4 separate regions of the Homo sapiens genome follow, and all the other regions are linked to region 3. The links are contacts of gene promoters, found by promoter capture Hi-C in blood cells and fetal thymus (Javierre and others, 2016). All regions are on one chromosome and are shown on one strand. Each heading gives the region's core, a stretch centred on a gene start or on the middle of the fragment in contact. The rest is flanking DNA. Distances are from core to core; before and after follow the strand shown. Region 1 holds the start of RPL27A (ribosomal protein L27a). Region 2 holds the start of SVIP (small VCP interacting protein). Region 3 holds the start of C11orf58 (chromosome 11 open reading frame 58). Region 4 holds the start of EIF3F (eukaryotic translation initiation factor 3 subunit F).

What was found. The method cuts DNA at HindIII sites, captures the fragments that hold promoters and counts their contacts. A CHiCAGO score of 5 or more calls a contact.
Region 1: a contact is called between the fragment with the promoter of RPL27A here and the fragment with the promoter of C11orf58 in region 3, in 6 of 17 cell types (total CD8 T cells, non-activated CD4 T cells, activated CD4 T cells and 3 more). The highest score is 13.8, in total CD8 T cells.
Region 2: a contact is called between the fragment with the promoter of SVIP here and the fragment with the promoter of C11orf58 in region 3, in 5 of 17 cell types (total CD4 T cells, non-activated CD4 T cells, naive CD8 T cells and 2 more). The highest score is 14.9, in total CD4 T cells.
Region 4: a fragment that was not itself captured here is called in contact with the fragment with the promoter of C11orf58 in region 3 in 2 of 17 cell types (non-activated CD4 T cells and total CD8 T cells); the score reaches 6.4 in non-activated CD4 T cells.

What each region holds. Positions count from the first base shown.
Region 1 is chr11:8,680,590-8,684,041 of GRCh38, forward strand. It overlaps RPL27A (ribosomal protein L27a), which reads left to right and starts at 2,203. Exons shown (of 5, transcript NM_000990.5): 1 at 2,203-2,227; 2 at 2,613-2,676; 3 at 3,417-3,452. The coding sequence starts at 2,225. TRIM66 (tripartite motif containing 66) reads right to left here and starts at 2,076. Exons shown (of 25, transcript NM_001388022.1): 1 at 2,012-2,076. RefSeq lists enhancers at 1,633-2,832, 1,696-1,765, 1,966-2,155, 2,482-3,124 and a silencer at 2,276-2,475. The HindIII fragment of the contact is 2,972 bases long and covers 1-2,596 here.
Region 2 is chr11:22,828,094-22,831,102 of GRCh38, forward strand. It overlaps SVIP (small VCP interacting protein), which reads right to left and starts at 1,708. Exons shown (of 4, transcript NM_148893.3): 1 at 1,602-1,708. The coding sequence starts at 1,655. LINC02718 (long intergenic non-protein coding RNA 2718) reads left to right here and starts at 1,321. Exons shown (of 11, transcript NR_187210.1): 1 at 1,321-1,518. RefSeq lists an enhancer at 1,303-1,612 and a silencer at 1,763-1,832. The HindIII fragment of the contact is 1,537 bases long and covers 489-2,025 here.
Region 3 is chr11:16,737,369-16,740,422 of GRCh38, forward strand. C11orf58 (chromosome 11 open reading frame 58) reads left to right here and starts at 1,279. Exons shown (of 5, transcript NM_014267.6): 1 at 1,279-1,473. The coding sequence starts at 1,411. It also overlaps a transcript of SOX6 not described here. RefSeq lists an enhancer at 1,153-1,782. The HindIII fragment of the contact is 4,072 bases long and covers 188-3,054 here.
Region 4 is chr11:7,984,686-7,987,662 of GRCh38, forward strand. EIF3F (eukaryotic translation initiation factor 3 subunit F) reads left to right here and starts at 2,652. Exons shown (of 8, transcript NM_003754.3): 1 at 2,652-2,977. The coding sequence starts at 2,668. RefSeq lists enhancers at 2,287-2,466, 2,350-2,889, 2,890-2,977, 2,897-2,946. The HindIII fragment of the contact is 5,200 bases long and covers 1-2,977 here.

The DNA of each region.
Region 1 (3,452 bases), core at 953-3,452, 8.1 Mb before region 3:
CAAGACAGAGAATAAAGGAGAAGGCACCAGTGAGCAGTGCAGATTGAGTTCTTTGGATATGTTTACTTTGTCTGTAGAATGTCCAAGGAATACTAACCAGTAATTAAGTGACCATATGGGTGTGGAGCTCAGCAATAAGGATGTGAATTGAAGCCACCCAAGAAGACCATGTACTGTGAAAAGATAAGGACAAGGACAGAAGGCTGAGGAACATCAACATTCAAATGGTGGACAACGCTGGATGGAAGAACCTGAAAAGAAGACTGAAAAGTGACCAAAGAGTAGGAGGAAGGCAAGACTTTTTCTAGAAAAAGACGCCAACAGATTAAAGTACAACAGAAAGAACAAGTGATATGAAGAATAGGAAGAGTCCAATTTGGCAATTCGTTCATTAATGACATTAGTAAGAGCAATTTCACTGAAGTCACAGGCTGTGAGCTAGACCGCAGTGAACAATGGATGGGAAGGTGCAAATGGGCAGGATTTGTAGACTACTCTTTTGGGGAGCTTGGCTGTAAGGGCAAGGACATGGGAGAATTTTGGAATTTTTTTTTTTTTTTTTGAGACGGAGTCTCGTTCTGTCGCCCAGGCTGCAGTGCAGTGGCGCGATCTCGGTTCACTACAAGCTCCGCCTCCCGGGTTCACGCCATTCTCCTGCCTCAGCCTCCCGAGTAGCTGGGACTACAGGCGCCCACCACCACGCCCATCTAATTTTTTGTATTTTTAGTAGAGACGGGGTTTCACCGTGTTAGCCAGGATGGTCTCGATCTCCTGACCTCGTGATCCGCCCGCCTCGGCCTTCCAAAGTGCTGGGATTACAGAAGTAAGCCACCACGCCCGGCCAGAATTTTGGATATTTTAGCTAAAATATATTTTAGCTGAAGGGGGCAAGACAAAGAAAAATAAATAAATACACGCTCACACATACACACAGAGAATAACTGAGGGGATGGGATTTTAAAAATTTATTTCATTTTTCCCATGGGATCTATTAATAGACTAGCGAGGGGATGGGATCTTGAACACTGGTTGAAGGAACCGACTTAAGAGCGAAGACATGCTGCTATTAGCGAAGACAGGGAGGTGAGGGTAAGTTCATTTATTCACTCAACAATCACTAGTTGAGTGTGGATTAAAAAAAACAGTCCTTGACCACATAAGGAATTAGGTCTAGTAGGGAAGACAAACGTAGGTCAATAAATTACATAAGGGTTATACTAGATTGTGTGGTGGTACAGGTGGGGAAGCGAGCAACTGTCTGCATTGTGTCCAGGAAAGGGTCACAGGCGTGTTATGTAGATTCTGGAGAAAATTCAAAAATAGCATTTATTTTTACTTATTTACTTTTGTATGTGGAGACGAGGGTCTCACTATGTTGCCCAGGCTGGTGTTGAACTACTCGCCTCAAGAAATCCTCCCGCCTCGACCTCCCAAAGTGTTGGGACTACAGGTGTGAGCCACCGCGCCTGGCCTAAATGTGGCATTTAGAAAAAGTATTTACAACATCTGCATTAAAAGGACCATAAAGCAACCAGGCATCTAAGTCCCTGAAGCAATTTAAGTTGCTCAAACTTGAGAGGACAACCAAATGATAGCAAAAGGGCAAAAGAGAAAGGAAGCTGCAGTGCCCACTCAGAAGTGTGAGAGCGGGAGAAGGCATTTCGGGAGCCGCCCGAGCTTCAGGAAACCGAGCGAGACACCAGGTGGGCACACTGAGGATTAAAGAGGGCCTCGCGGTTCCGCACTGCGGCCGGGAGACAAACCAGTAGCCACTATCACCAGCCCCGGGCAGACCACTAAGAACTGTGGAGGTGCGCGGGGCGGCTCAGGGCTGGCGCATTTGGTGAGGAGCTCAGACAACGAGGCCCTTAGGGTCGGCTTAGGCGGTTCCCTGACCAAGGCGCCAGAAAAGGGCCTGGCTCAAGCAAGCACGGGCGGCGTGCAGTACAGCACACCTAGCCCCGATTCTTCAACAGTTCTCGCCCTCCGAGCCTAGCACAACGAGCCTCACCGAAACCGTACACCGCCACCAGGACACTCCGTGATGGGGGATCACCACCCTCAGAAAGAGGAAGCGACTAGCAGGCGCGCAATCCCGCGAGACCAGGAGGCCCCGCCCGAAGCCCGGCCTCTGTGACCGGAAGTGAGGCGTTTTGCCCCGCCCCCGTGGCCGATACCTCGCGAGACTTGGCGAAGGCCTTCCTTTTTCGTCTGGGCTGCCAACATGGTAGGTGTTTCGTTTCTTGCCTCCTCTTCCTTGCCGGCGGAGACCCCTAAGCTGTATTCCCATTGCCCCTAGTCATCCACTCCCTACCATGGTCGGGGCTTCCAGGCTGCGCATGGCCGCCTGCGGGGCAGGGTGGCCGGCGCGGGCCCGGGGCGGGGCTCCCGGAGCCGTGTGTTAGGCCCGCGGTTCGGATCTCTAGGACACGCGGGCCCCTGCGCTACCGTGGTGAGACCTCACGGCCCTGAGCGGATCGGTACCCTCAGCTTTCCCAAACGCTCCAGAAGTTAGGTCTTTGACCCACAGGCTTACAGGACCATCTCGGCTGGCGGGCATCGCCCCCTGCCCCTAATTCCTTAGGCCTTACCACCAAGCTTTTTCCACACAGCCATCCAGACTGAGGAAGACCCGGAAACTTAGGGGCCACGTGAGCCACGGCCACGGCCGCATAGGTAAGTGCCGGCTTCCCCTCGGGGTGGGCCTTGGGCTCTCTTCGGGTGCTTAGCTAGTCTGGAGATCGGTAGCCTATAAGTGGGTTAGAATAAGACCTTTTTGTGGTCAAGTTGCACAGCTGTTGATTTTTTTCTGACGATCCTCTAGTATTCCAGTTCTAAGGAATTTCACATCAGTGGGGTAATAGGAATTGAGCAGGCACGGTATTGGGTTAGTTGAAGACATGGAGTACTGTGGGAATGCTGTGATGTGGAACCTGAAAAGATGTTTCACCCGGAATCCTAAAGTAATCGCATTGCTGAAAACCGGCATCGGTAGGGTGGGAACAGCGTAAGCGGGACACAGAAGTCTGGGAAACACTCTGCTTTTGTGCGAGGAAGTATTGAGATGCATGAGAAGGCTGTGTGGTGCATGTAGCTTTTTTGTGTGTGTGTGAGACTGATCACTGTCGCCCAGGCTGGAGTGCAGTGGCGAAATCTCGGCTCACTGCAACCCCTGCCTGCCGGGCTCAAGCGATTCTCCTGCCTCAGCCTCCCGAGTAGCTGATATTACAGGTGTGCGCCACGACGCCCGGCTAATTCTTTTTCTATTTTTAGTAGAGTCGGGGGTTTCTCCGTGTTGGCCAGGCTGGTCTCGAACTCCTGACCTCAGGTGATCTACCCCCCCTCGTCCTCCTAAAATGCTGGGATTACAGGCATGAGCCATCACACCGGCCCCACGTAGCTTTGTATTCCTGCAGGCAAGCACCGGAAGCACCCCGGCGGCCGCGGTAATG
Region 2 (3,009 bases), core at 458-2,957, 6.1 Mb after region 3:
ATAATCATTTATTTACTCTCTTTTTTAATAAAAAGGCCTACAAGCTAGTCAGGGCAATAACAAAACAAATAATGTTTACAAATACAAAAAGGAAAATACATGGTTTGTTACTGCCGGTTAAAATGGAGTCTGAAGTAACCTGGTGTTTTTAGGAAAGGTTAATAAATGAAGTGGGCTAATCTCAGTGTGTAGGAGGGAAGGACTGGAGTAATTTCATGAGAGGTATTGTTCCATATCAGAAAACAGTGAATGCTATTTTTCTAGACCATGTACTACTTATTATAAAGCCCTTTTTCTAGGTGCTGGGATACAACAGTGTAAAAACATAGATAAATGTCTCCTCCCAAATGAAACAAATTCCAATTGCGGGCGCACAGACAAATATAATGAAGTAAGTAAACGTCTGTCAGATGGCATGGCAGATAAGTAATGGGAGAATGGGTGGGTGGTATTGTGGGGAATATATTTTGTTTAACGTGGTCAGCAAAAGCTTCACTGGTAAAGTGACATCCAAGCAGTGAGCCGTGTGGTTATCAAGGGAAGAGGGTATAGTATGAGGATGGGGGGGAGGGCTTAACAAATCTGACATGTTATATTTTATCGACAGCCAGAACAACAAAATCAACTTAATTTAAAACAACAGCAGCAACAAAGAGAAGCTGAACTTTCCCACATCAAATTTATAAGTACTAAATTTTTAGTATCTATAGTAGCTGAAGAGTTAATGTACTTCCCAAAAATACTTCATTTTCTTCAACTAATTTTTAGCTAGAGAAGAGAAACAGGTTTATGTTAACTCCCTGTAAGGAGTACTAATGTAAAGATACTGTTAACAGAAAGCTACAAAAAGTGTACATGTATTGTACCACACACCCACTAGCTACATTTGAATTTCAGATAAGCAATGAGTAATGTTTTTGTAGAACTAGATCCCTAATATTGCATGGCACAAAACGATATTATAAACGTATTCCTTGTATATCTGAAATTCGAATGTAACTGGGTGTCCAGTATTTTTATTAAATACGACATTATAAATTGGACACTCTGTACTACATATTCTTTTAAAGGGAGAACGTAAAAGAATGAGATAAATACTAAAAAGAAATCATTAAAAAAACATATCCGATAAAGCTCAGGCGTATAAGCGACTTTCCGAGCACCTTCTTTTAAAAGATGGTAGACACAGTTGAAAACGCACATCTCCTAGACGACTAAAGAGCTCCCGGAGAAAGCAATGTCTTTTCGCGCCGAATTCCATCTACCACATCCCCCGGAATGTCCCACGCGTAACGCCCTCTGCGTGCGCCGGCGCCCTATGAAGATCCGGCGCAGCTAAAGTCAGTGGAAGGTAGAAAGACGCCACAGCCGCCTTTCGACAACTTTTTGTTACAAAAGTGGAGATCTACACGGAGGCGACGGCCTAGGTCGCTCTGACAGGACCCAACGACCCTCCTGACGCGTCCACCCGTCCTCGCTAGCAGGGTCCCCCAGCGGGCTCTCGACCTGCGCCACCAGGTACAATGGCTCGGCCCGCCCCGCAACCCGAGGACAGGTGCTCAAGGCGCGGCCCGGCGGACGCAGGGACCTGCTCTACTCACCAGGTCCGGCGTGGGAGGCGCGGACTCCCCGGGACAAGGAAAACACAGCCCCATAGGGACGACAGCTTGAGAACCCTGACCGGGTCCGGCCCAGGCCAGGCGGCGCTAACTGCGCGGTCCGGAGCCGGTCCCTGGTCCTCCGCGCTTGCCCCGCCCCCACCGCCCTCCACTGGCTCGGCTCCGCCCCAGCGGCAACGCCCCGCCCCCACCCCGCAGCTCTGCCCCGCCTCGCCTCTCTGCGGCAACGCCCCCCTCTTCTCGCGACACCAACCAGTCCCACAGCTCAGCTGCGCCCCCTTAAGGCATTGCCCCTTCCTCACCCACAGCTCCGCCTACCCCCGCCCCGCGACCGCTGGGCTTGTGGCCAAAGCCTAGGTTCCAGGAAACACCTGCTGTGGGTAGCAATGCAGGGAAGGGATGGAAAAGCTTCGCTACGGTTCCAAAGCTCTTCCTGCTAACCTTGCCTTACCATTTATAAATGAATGAGTGGTACAGCTCTGGGTAGTTCATGCTACCTTTTTTTATGAGATGGGACTCTGGTGTCCTAGAAATTAAAGCCAAAATTCCAAGTAAACATCAGCACCCTTTTCTCCCTTCTTAGTGACAGTGCTATTCCAGAACAGAGGGCAGAATATAAAATCCATTATTATGACGATGAATCTAGCGTCATAAATGTGGCATTAGTTGACATTTCCACTAGTTTCTGGTATTTAGAAGTCATTTATCCTTCCGAGAGAAATAATAAAGTTTCATCTACTGAGAAATGTTTTAATGATTCTCCTCAAATTTTAATAAGTATGAGAATCAGCTGGGCAACTAGTTAAAATTTACTTGCTGATTTAGTAAGTATAAGGTGGGACCTGAGATTCATTTCCAGTAAACCCACAGGTGATACTAAAGTTACTGATCTCGTCTCCACACAAATGCTTTTATTTTATTTTATTTTATTTTTGCATTCTATTAGTTATTTCTGCTTATGTAAAAATTTTCAAACATTACAAAAAGGTAGGATGTATAGTGACAGCGTCTCAGAAACCATTGTCGGCTTTTTGATATACTTGCTGGTTAATTTTTTATAGATGTATAATTTACATATAATATTATGCACTTATTTTGATTGTAGAGTTCACTGAGTTTTAACAAACATGTGATCACCACATTCAAGATATGTAAGTTTTCCATCACCCAAAAACCTTCTATTGTACCCAATCCCATTCAATACTTTATCCTATACCTAGATCCAGGAAACTATTAATTTGTTTAATATCACTTTAGTCTTTAAGTTTTGCATAAATGTTAATATCACTATAGTCTTTAAGTTTTACATAAATGAAATATACAATATGTTTTGCAAAAGCCATAATATTTTCTAAATTCTTCCATGTTATTGAATGAAACAGTAGTTTAT
Region 3 (3,054 bases), core at 29-2,528:
GCTAATTTTTGTATTTTTAGTAGAGACGTGGTTTCACCATGTTGATCAGGCTGGTCTCGAACTCCTGACCTCGTGATCCACCCGCCTCAGCCTCCCAAAATGCTGGGGATTACAGGCCTGAGCCATGGCGCCAGGCCTAATTTTTGCTTAAAAAAAAAAAAAATCACATTTGTATTCAAGGTGAGAAAGCTTCAGAATTATTAAGGACAAGGATTCTGACAGAAAGTTAAGTTCAGACCTGGTTACAAATTCAGACACCTTAATAAAGTAGGAGATAGTCTTCAGTATCTGAACAATAAATAGCTTTAAATGCAGGGCTTTTTGAGTAGAGGAGTGATCACTTGAATCTGGAGAGAGGGCGAGAAATGGGGAGGGATTGCTAACGGGCATTGGGGTTCCTTTTGGAGTGGTGAAACTTCTTGGAATCAGAGGTGACAGCTGCACACGATTGTGAATGTACTAAGTGACAGTGGATTGTACACTTTTTAAAAAATGGTTAATTTTATATGTGAATTTAACCTCAATAATTACTTTTTTTAAAAAAGAAAAAAAATAGAGGCTTTTGTGGCAGGGATGGACTTTGCTTGGTGAAGGCCCCTACTGTAACGGTGCCCAGACATCCACAGCGAGGTCAGTGAGGAGCACTCCCACCTCACACAAAGCCATATGAAAACTTAACAGATTTCCCTCAGCTAAATCCCCGTTTTCAACAACCGCCAATTAGCCAACATTTAACAACATACTGAACTCATTTCTGTATGGGAAAACAGCGAAATATTCATGAAAACATTTAGAAAGCAGCATCACCGACCACCTAGAAATCCCCTGCGCGCAATAGAGAACACCAGGGTGGAAATGGTAGAAGCCATTTTTGGTTAAGGTTTTTGTCCTGGGTGGAGGGTATTCGTGAGGATTCAGTCAGCCTCAAACATTACATTTAAACATAGGTGCCTAGCTACGATGATACATTTGCCAGTAGGGCAGCGTTGCACGGTGAAAGGCAAAAACCCCTCTAAGCCTCCTCCTGTGGCGACAAAGCTCTCGGCCAACGCTCACCGCCATACACATCCGCGGGAACGCTTCCTCCACCAGCCGAAGGCGGGGCCTCTGAGGGCACTCCCGCCACACAGCGCGAATTGAGCCTCGGGGCTTCCTGGGAATTGTAGTTTTAGTCACGGACACATCTTTTTTATTCGGGCCAGTATGCAATGAATCAGAAAACTACAACTCCCAAAGTGCCCCGGGGCGGCGAGGGGCCGCAACGGTGACGACTGTGGCAGAGAAGGCCCGGAGGGGCTCTGCGTTCTGTAGTGGCGCTGCTTGGGCCCTTGGCGGATTGTAAGCTGCTGGTTTTGCGGCTGGGAAGAGCGGCGAGAGGGTTCGGCATTTTTCGTCGGGATCCCCGCAAGGATGAGTGCTGCCAGAGAGTCTCACCCGCATGGGGTGAAGCGTTCAGCCTCCCCAGACGACGATGTAAATAATAATGGCGGAGTGGCTGAGGGTTGAGGCCTACTAAAGCCTGGAGTAGGCCGGGAAGGGTGGTTGGAGGAGGACGCGCCTGAGGTGGCCTGCAGCGGGAGAGCCCAGGGAAGAAACCAGAAGAATGAGTGGGAAATGCCTCCCTTAATCTTTATGAGGGTCAGAAGGTTTGAAGAGGCCCACACGCTGAGAGCCGGAGACCTGCGTAGGAAGGGGGATTGAGGAAGGAAATTCTGAGAGGGTCGAGGAGTGAAAGAGCTTAGTCAAGGGATTTCGTACGTGCGTTTTGGGGGGCCGATGAGAGTGCTTTCTCGGGCCTTTGTACTCAGTATAGAGACGGCAAGACTCTCCCTGTTTTGGGTTCTAAATGTTCCCGTGACAATGTCGAAATGTTCGTGCACGTTTGTACAGATTTTTCCTGCCTGGATGATTTTTACAATGTGCTGTTGAGAGTTAACTTTAGCTGCACTAGTAAGGGTAAACCGAGAACAGTATTGAGCCGAAAATTGTGCCACGGGTGTAATTTGGTACTGGCTCTGGTGGTGAGGTCTAAGACGTTGAGACCTAGAAGCCCATTTTGATGTCGGATATTAATACCTCGTTCTTCTTACCTCGTCTCCCCATCAAATGCCGTTCCCTTCCTCAGCCCTCACCTCATAGGTTTTAATAGCAAACGGTTTATCCCTTAAAGTAACCCGTTAAATATTTACTGCACTGCCGGGTGTTGGGAATTCGGAGAGAAATATGATGCTTATTTTAGGCCTTTTTGTATATTTGTCCTAGCTCCTAGCCCAGTGTCATGGAAACGGTAGGTAACCAGTAAACGTAAAACTAGGTCCTTCATACAATGGATAAGTGTCTTGGCAACGTTGATGGGGAAAATTGTTGGAGAGAGCGCGGAGAGGTCATCTTTAAGGAAGATGAAGGGATATCTAGGTTTTTTTTCGGTTTTGTTTAAAGTACTGTCAATTTCTGAATACATAGAGCTTTAAATTTTTCGATAGTGCATTTCAACGCTCTTCATAAAATTTTAAAAGCCCACTGAATACTACTTTGTAGCAAATGAGATAATGTTAAGACCTACCCCTCTGATGGGAGGTGGGGCGAGGACCGGAATATTAAGGATCTTTAAAGGAATCGACTTCAGCTCTGCAGAAAGATTAGCAATCAGTAAAGATTTGGGGATGAATGGGCACCTAGAGAAGTTTATTCTTGCTCTCTGTTATTTCTGCTACTGGATTTTAGATCTTGTTAATATGGTAATTCAGGTTTTGTCAGGAATTGATCCACACTTTTGAGTAACCTGGCTGCCACTTAAAAAGCTGTTACATTGTTTTCCTCCTGATCTTTAAATGTGACTTGATTGCTAGGATATCAGACACCTGTTTGGAAATATCTTTTAGCGTGACAGAAAACTCCAGGTGATATGAAATTTAACAAAGTTAAAGGGATTAAGTCATTAAGTTTACAGCTTCGGAAGAGGTCGGTTTAAACTAGACGACCTTGAAGACCTTTCCCAATCATATAAGCGTATCTTTAAGTACCTGGGTTTTGTTTTTGTTTTGAGACAGGTGA
Region 4 (2,977 bases), core at 478-2,977, 8.8 Mb before region 3:
GAACTTACACCACTGGCTCTCCTGGGTCTCCAGATTGTTCACTGCAGATCTTGAGACTTCTTCCATAATTACAAAAGCCAATTCCTTATAATAAATCTCTTTCTATATATATCCTGTTGGTTCTGTTTTTCTGTAGAACCCTAATACACTCGTACAATACATTGCCCATCTACATGGGTACAGTCTATTTTCTCTCTTCCCATACCTCTGCCCTTTCCCTGATGAACCCAGGCCCCAGATATCTCTCAGACAGCCACTGAAAAGCCAGCATTTGGGATATACACACTCTCATCCTGGCCAGTCAGCCTCCCAGAAAGACCACACCAACCATCTGTACTCTCCTGCTCCTGGGCTATGTTGCTAGAGAAAAACCACAAGAGTTGGCCAGATTCTCGAGCTCTCCAGGCTCAGGGGGTGCTCCCATAATTGATCAATGCCTTCAATAGCTCACTCTCAGACCCTCCTCCAAACACTGTCCATTCCCCCGAGGCTTATCCCTGCCCTTGCATTGCCATTCACAGCAGATCACCTTGCCTCAACTTACCTGAGAAAAATGTCATTTGCAGGAGGTCCTGCAACTTCCCTCTCTCCCCAATTCATCTCTGCTTCTTCATCCATCCCCTTCTCTTTTCTCCCAGAGAGAAATGTCTTTAAGACATCAATATAAAGGCAAAGTTATTGAAGGCAAAGTGTCCACACCAACCCAGATTAACACATAGATAGGAGGTCTCAAAGGTGTGCATGGTCAGTTGGGGGCAGCAACACTTCTTCAACTGGGTTCTGTCCTCTGGCCTTTTTCCCATGAGATGATCTCAATGGACTGACCTTGACTCAGGCAGACCCCTACTAAGCACCCAAAAGGGAGGCCAGGGCCCTGGGCAGTCTCTCCAGCATGCCTCTCAGCCTGTGCAAGACCATCTAGGCTTCTCAGTGTGGGTCCACCTTTTGCCCGTTTCATTAGATATTTTTTCACACTTGTATATTTAATATTTCTCTCTCGTCTATATTCTTATCCTCAGTTTAAAATATACTTGAAACACTGCCATCCTAAATTGGCTGCCTCTCAATCCTGCTGTTTCCCTGGCTATTTCCTTAAATGTCTCCTTTCCTTCCCAGAAAACTTCCTGAAAGAAAAGCTGGCACTTGCTGCTTTCAGTTCAGACTGGCCATTCTCTCACACCAGATTTCTAGTTTCTGTGCCCACCCCACCCTCAGTCCCACTGACGTTGCTCTACTAGGGTTGCTAAAGACTCCAGGTCATCAAATCCAAGAGTTACTTTTCAATCTTCTTCTGTTTGGCTGTTCACCTTTGTTTTGGTGAAAGAAAGAATGCATGTCTACACAGAGCATTTACAGGGGAGCAGCGTCATGTGAATTCTAATAATGGAAGATTTCTCCAAGGAGAAATCAACTCTTGGGCACAGAATCAGGGATAAGAAGTTCAACCTCACCTATCCACTTGCCAGCTGGACACTAGGACTTGACCTAATTAAGGGAGTTGACAGTTTTTTTGGTGTTTTGTTTTGTCTTTACAAGCAGATGTTATCACCCCATTATACCAAGAAGGAAATTGAGGCTCAGAAAAAACTTGTAGATTGCCCCAAGTTACACAGTGGGTTATGGTCAGAGCTCCCTCCATCACATAGTGATAATAGCTATGACTTAATAACTACTGTATATCAGGCATGTGCTAAGAGCTTTACAAGGCAATACCTCATATAATCCTCTCCTAAAGTACAGACTAGTTTATACACCTTATTACAACTCCACTTGAATGTGTAATGGACATCTCAAAGGTGACACATTCAGAAATGAAATCAGGATCTTTTCCCCAAAACCTGCTCTACCTACAGCTTTTGCTATCTCAATTGATGGTGACTTCATCCTACTAATCGCTCAGTACAAAAAAAAAAAAAAAAAATTGCAGTCCTCCTTGACTCCTCTCTTTCACACCTCATATACAATTTCTCAGGAAACCCTATTGAAACTACCTTCAAAATATATCCATAATCTTCCCACTTCTCAGAACTTCTACTGCTACCAGCCTGGTCCCAGCCACCATCATCTCTCACTTAGATTACCTAGTGGCCTCCCAGCAGGTCTCCCTGCTTTTCCCTCTCTCGCCTCCCTCTCCTCACCTCCCCTCACCCTCCAGTCTCTTCTCAAAGCAGCAGGAGAAATCCAGCTAAGTTCTCCTTCTCGCCCATTGCAGCCTCGAGCTTCTGGGCTCAAACGATCCTTCCGCCTCGGTCTCCCGAAGTGCTGAGATTACAGGCGTGAGCCACCGCGCCTGGCCTTAAAATCCTTTTTAAAGGCACTTTGACATCCATTATCTCATTTAAGTCTAAAACACGAATTTCGACCTCCGCGCTGCTTTCTGGTTCCACCTGGCGGCAGCTGCACAAAGTGTTTCTCTTCGAACGCCGTCCCAAGTTTTACCCGGAACTACTTAGCCCAGGGTTTCCTGAGTGCTCCTCGGGCCAAAAGCAGAGCGCACAAATTCCAGAAGAAATTACCAACGGCGGGACTATTTCAGTGCTCCGAGAAGTATCACCAGTAACCAATCAGCAAAAAGCTCTAGCTCACGTGGTGTATATTCAGCCTATCAAGCTCCTGATATTCATGAATGCTGTCATTTCCGCTTCCGCCTCCTTCTTTCTCGACAAGATGGCCACACCGGCGGTACCAGTAAGTGCTCCTCCGGCCACGCCAACCCCAGTCCCGGCGGCGGCCCCAGCCTCAGTTCCAGCGCCAACGCCAGCACCGGCTGCGGCTCCGGTTCCCGCTGCGGCTCCAGCCTCATCCTCAGACCCTGCGGCAGCAGCGGCTGCAACTGCGGCTCCTGGCCAGACCCCGGCCTCAGCGCAAGCTCCAGCGCAGACCCCAGCGCCCGCTCTGCCTGGTCCTGCTCTTCCAGGGCCCTTCCCCGGCGGCCGCGTGGTCAGGCTGCACCCAGTCATTTTGGCCTCCATTGTGG